Linked DNA regions of Homo sapiens: region 2 is linked to region 1. Evidence: promoter capture Hi-C in 16 types of primary human blood cells and fetal thymus (Javierre and others, 2016). All regions are on one chromosome and are shown on one strand. Each heading gives the region's core, a stretch centred on a gene start or on the middle of the fragment in contact. The rest is flanking DNA. Distances are from core to core; before and after follow the strand shown.

The links. Contacts are between HindIII fragments. The CHiCAGO score rates a contact against its expected background, and 5 or more counts as called.
Region 2: a contact is called between the fragment with the promoter of CNTN4-AS1 here and the fragment with the promoter of SETMAR in region 1, in 9 of 17 cell types (activated CD4 T cells, total B cells, total CD4 T cells and 6 more). The highest score is 14.1, in activated CD4 T cells.

Annotation. Positions count from the first base shown.
Region 1 is chr3:4,302,060-4,304,759 of GRCh38, reverse strand. SETMAR (SET and mariner transposase domain methyltransferase) reads right to left here and starts at 1,391. Exons shown (of 3, transcript NM_006515.4): 1 at 1,234-1,391. The coding sequence starts at 1,389. It also overlaps a transcript of SUMF1 not described here. RefSeq lists enhancers at 954-1,023, 1,052-1,794 and a silencer at 1,114-1,453. The HindIII fragment of the contact is 4,274 bases long and covers 1-2,606 here.
Region 2 is chr3:3,059,843-3,062,542 of GRCh38, reverse strand. CNTN4-AS1 (CNTN4 antisense RNA 1) reads left to right here and starts at 1,398. Exons shown (of 4, transcript NR_046554.1): 1 at 1,398-1,476. The HindIII fragment of the contact is 1,405 bases long and covers 1,057-2,461 here.

The DNA.
Region 1 (2,700 bases), core at 142-2,641:
TCTTTTCCTTGACATCTTTGAAAGCTGCTATTGAATCTCTTATCTTATCTGATCCTCACAAAAACCCCTAGGAAAAAGAAAGGGCAGATAGGGTTCATTGTTGATAATGGATGTTAAAGGGGCTATGCATTTTTAAATTATTATTTTCATTTTGCAGATGAAGAAACTCAGGCTCTGGGAAGTAGCTAAGATGTCTAAGCTCCGAACCATACTCTCCAACTTCCACGTCCAGCGCTCTTTCCACTTCAAAATCTTTGGTCATTCCTTATTCCTTGGGTAACGCTCAGGCCAAGGTCGGAGGGATAAGAAAGTCAGTAGAGGCTGGGAGCGTGGCTCATGCCTGTAATCCCAGCATTTTGGGAGGCCGAGGCGGGCGGATCACCTGAGGTTGGGAGTTCGAGACCAGCCTGACCAACATGGAGAAACCCTGTCTCTACTAAAAATACAAAAATTAGCCGGGCGTGGTGGCCCATGCCTGTAATCCCAGCTACTCGGGAGGCTGAGGCAGGAGAATCGCTTGAACCCGGGAGGTGGAGGTTGCGGTGGGCCGAGATCGCGCCAGTGCACTCCAGCCTGGGCGACAGAGCGAGACTCAGTCTCAAAAAGAAAAAGGAGAGTAGAAAGGGCTTTGAGGTAGTTAATAGAAGCAAACATTTACTGAGTTCTTACAGCAAACCGGAAAGTGTATTTTCCTTGCCATTTTCAAAGCACTCCGGAAGAGAGGTACTGTTCCACTGTACGCTGGAAGACTCTAAGGCTGAGCCACAGCTAATTTACACTCGCCCAAGAGCCCACAGCGTGAGGGAGACCACAGCTAAGGCTGACTCGAGGGGCTGTTTTTATGCACGACACCGGCTGCGATCCATTAATAGGCCCCACGGCTTATCCTACCTGTGAGAGACACCTGAGACCAGGGAGGTAAATGACTCCCCCCGTGATGCCTCCTTGAGTTCTGAGGACAGGACTGGACAAAAAGCCAGGTTCTCACAAGGCCTCCGGTTCTGCGCTTCAGGGAATGGACTGAAAAGGACAACACCCTTGCTAAGGTGATGCCGTGGGTCAACAGAAAAAGGCCCAGGCCGGGGCATGCACACCTATTCCCGCGCACCAACGGGTGCGCTGTAAGAGAAGACAAAAGGTCGCGACTGGGAGGCCGTCCCAGCGAGGCGGCTTGAGGAGACCACGTGGGGGAGCCGCGCGCCCGCCTCCCGCGCCGCCTGGCCCCGCCCCTACCTGGAAGGGCGCCGGCGCGGCCCCCGGGGGCCACGCGCCCACCGGCAAGTTTTCCTGGCCGCACGCGACATCCAGCTGCTCAGTCGGGGCCTCAGGCTTCTCCTTAAACTCCGCCATCCCACAAGGCCGTGTCGTCTTTGCCGCTTCCGCGAACATTTACCCGCCTCACGCAACGCCCACTACCCTGACAGTCCTGGGCCGCGCGGTGGATGCTGGGACTTGTGGTCCCGTGGCCCCACCGCCTCATGGGAATTGTAGTTCGTTTCTTCTCAGGAGTGGCCTGGAAGGCGCTTCCCTTCCTTGACTTTTTGGGTCTGGCTCCCGTTTTGATTTCAGCCAGAGGCACCACAGATAATTACAAAACCATGTAAGGTACGGACGAAACAAAGTGAGGTGCTTTAGTTTTTCCTGGGAGCATCAGAGAGGGGGCTTTCGAGGTGAGGTCATTTGTCCAGGTTTTTGAGGGCTCACTGCACGTTTGTGGAGTGGAGGCAGGGGTGCGTTCTAAACCGAGCGGGGAAACGCACACCAAGGTTTCTAAAGGTCTGCGGCTTGCCGGGAAGTTGACTGACATGTGATAGGGTTTGTGCCAAGGCGATAGCCTCACAGGGTGCCTTAAGGAATTTGTGTGGGGGCATGCTCACTCCCTGATGGAGGTATCCGTGCCCCTTTGCCTGTCCTTTTCCCTCCTCTCCATCCCTCTACCCTCACCCCTCCAAACCCCTGCCCTGCCAAAGGATTCTGATAGCCTCAAGACTGCTGAATCCGGTGGAGCATTTTCAACCTCACTGAAGCTCTCTGACATGATTGTCCTGCTTCTCCTTGAAACTGTAAACCAAAAATAAAATTCCAATCCTCCAAACCATCTGAAGGGACCCCTCCTCTCTGCCAAGGTTAACCTGAGAAAGTGGTTCAGGCCATGATGGGAAGGGGGGTCCAACATGCCTCATTATGCCCTTCTTCCTTTTGGAATTCAGGAAAAGCCAGCCAGCATCAACATCAACACACACCTTAAGTCTGATAAGAAACATTTACAATCTGTTCTCTGAAATTTACCTCTTGGAGGCTTCATCTCCACGATCAAATTTGGTATCCACAACCTCTTATTGCAACCCAGACATTCGTTTCTATTGATTTTAGGTCTTTAGATAATAACCAGTTGCCAATCAGAAAATCTTTAAATCTACCTATGACCTGGAAGCCACCCCTCACCCGCTTCTCGTTGTCTGCCTTTCCAGATCCAACCAATCTTACATGTATTGATTGATGTATTATGTCTCCCTAAAATGTGTGAGAGTAAGCTGTATCCCAACCACCTTGGGCACATGTCATCAGGACTGCCTGAGGCTATGTTGGGGGCGCATTCTTAAGCTTGGGAAAATAAACTTTCTAAATTGAGACCTGTCTCAGATAATTTTGGGTTCACAAACCCTTCTGACCTTGCAGCTTCTGAGGTCCCATTGGCCT
Region 2 (2,700 bases), core at 149-2,648, 1.2 Mb after region 1:
CTCTGTATTGTGACAAAATACTGTTACTGGTGCCTTGGCTTCCTCACACACATCTGAATGCCACATCATTCTTCTATGCCCAGAATAGTGCCTGGTACAGAGAGGGCTGCCAGTAGTCCCTTGCTGAATAACTAAAACCCTCTCCAGGCACCTATCCTATCCCATTCCTCCAGATGGCTGTGCCCTGGGCCTGGCCGGCACTCAGAACTTCTCCACCTCCAGCATCTGAACCTCAGACATCTCACCCTTCTACCTCACCATTTCCTCTGGCCTACCTACTTGTCCTAGAATGTTCTCTAGTTGAACTTCAGAGTCTAGTTCCTTACTCCATCCTGTCCTTTCTCTAAGTACTTATTTCTAGGTGTATGAAATGCACTAATGAGTCTATGTTCTAAATTCTAGTCCTTCTTTTTTTTTTTTTCTTTTGTTTGAGACAGAGTCTCACTCTCTTGCCCAGGCTAGAGTGCAGTAGGGCAATCTCAGCTCACTACAACCTCTGCCTCCCAGGTTCAAGCAATCCTCCTGCCTCAGCCTCCTGGGTAACTGGGACTACAAGCACGTGCCACCATGCCCAGCTAATTTTTGTATTTTTAGTAGGAATGGGGTTTCACCATGTTGGCCAGGCTGGTCTCGAACTCTTGACCTTGTGATCCCCCCACCTCAGTCTCCCAAAGTGCTGGGATTACAGGTGTGAGCCACCATGCCCAGCCCTGACTTTCTAATTGTCTATGTTACTTTGGGCTTCTTATATAACCTCTTTGCTTCCATTTCATAAATAAAAAAGGAATAAAAACCTATGTCCTCCCCTTATTAGTGTGAAAAGCACTTTGAAAACTAGAAAAACAAATTAAAGATATTACTATTTGTTAAAGTCCTAGGACATATATATTTCCTGGTATAGTTCGTGTTATTCCTAACAATAAGGATATGTGGCAAAAACCCAGTTTACAGAGAATGGGGATATCACATGTAATTGCATCTATATTTAAGTAGCTCAGCCTTCCAATTTCCAGACTTTCAGATCGATCATATGGTTGACCTTTTTTAAAAAAAGCTTTCTCTCTATGTGATCTATATCACTAGAGCTCTGCTAATCTACCATGGCCCATAACTGCTTGTGATAAAGGATAGAGGCCAATTTTGTTTAAACTGTGATCTCTGTTGAGTATTGTAGTTTGCAGGTGAGTTGCAGAGCTGGAACATTTAATCCGCATGGCCCATTTAGCACAAGGGGAAACGGGGCCTCTTTGCAGAATGGGCAGCCTGACTTGCATTTACTAATCACACTCTGGCAGGGGGCCTGAGGAAATCACAGGAAACGGGGCCAGATATTCTCCTCCCTCTAGGTCTGAGATGGAGGTGACACAGGCCTTGTGCCTGGGAGCACAATGAGGAACCACACCCAGATGCCAACGCTGAGGTGCCGTGTGTCTACTATAAGGCGGAAGACACCAACAAAAATGATTTAAATATAAGGTACGAAGGGATGACTGACATGAGTGGGTACAGACCCCATCCCCTGGAGGTCAGAGAAATGCAAGGTCAATTTCAGATGGGGAAGCTGAGGGAGGCTTTGTGCAAAACCTGGCATCTGAATGGGAACCCTACTGCCTAAGTTTGAATTAGTTGATTGTATGATTAAAATTATCGAACATTAAAATTTATATTAAGAAGTGATCATGTTTAAATAAAAGGTGATAATGGATGTGTCAGCTGAGTTCCACTCATTTTGGTGATAAGAAGCATCCACATCCTACATCTGTGGGTCTAGTAAAGTCCCTGGAGAAAAAGAACAATAACAGACGGTAAAATCATCACTGTTTGGAGAGCTTTACAAACTTTATCCTCCCTAATAAGTAGCCAATCATTACAATGCACCCCAGGCAGTCAAACTCCAGGATCCACGTCCTTAGTCTTTGTATTAGGCTGCCTTTGTAAGGCCTCAGTGTCTGGCATTTTGTAATGGAAAAATCTGGGGTATGTCCACAGATTGAATATAAGTCCTTGATTTTAAAGGCTTGCCTTTCAAAGCACTATGGTTGGCCACATAACGTTTTTAGCCAGAACATTTTGTAAATTGTAACAACAGGAAAATAACAGTCACTTCTTGATTATAAGTGTTAACGGAGGAGAACAGTAGCATCGATAATCCAATGTAGTGAACAAAAATCACCTGTTGGTTGATTACATTAGATTAAAAACTGCATGACATTTTTGTTGCTAATTATGTGCTATTTGTATACTTTTTATAACTCAACATTCTTTGCGCATATTTGTAGTGAGGCAAGGTGGTGGAAGAGACTGGGTAAAGGTTAATCAGGATTTAACATTGCCTCCTGGATATAAACAACCACAATTTTGATGGTGGGAATAACACAATCATTCTTTCTTAATATCAAAGTCTATGCACCTTCTACCTCACAGGCTGGAAGAATTCAGAGCTTACCTGAGAAATGAAGCTTATCATCCATGTCTTCTGTGCCCATGGAAAGGTGCTGCTTTGTATGTAGCATGTGTGGGCTCCATAGAAAGTAGGTACACTGAGAGAATCCAAATATCTGGCACAATAGAATTTCCTTTCATACAGTTAAATCACAAGTGGACTACACACACAAAAAGGAGGGCAAGAGTAAGCACTTTGAAAGGTTAAACAAGCAAAGCAAATTTTCCTAGTGGTCCTCCTTCAGAAAAAAATCTCAA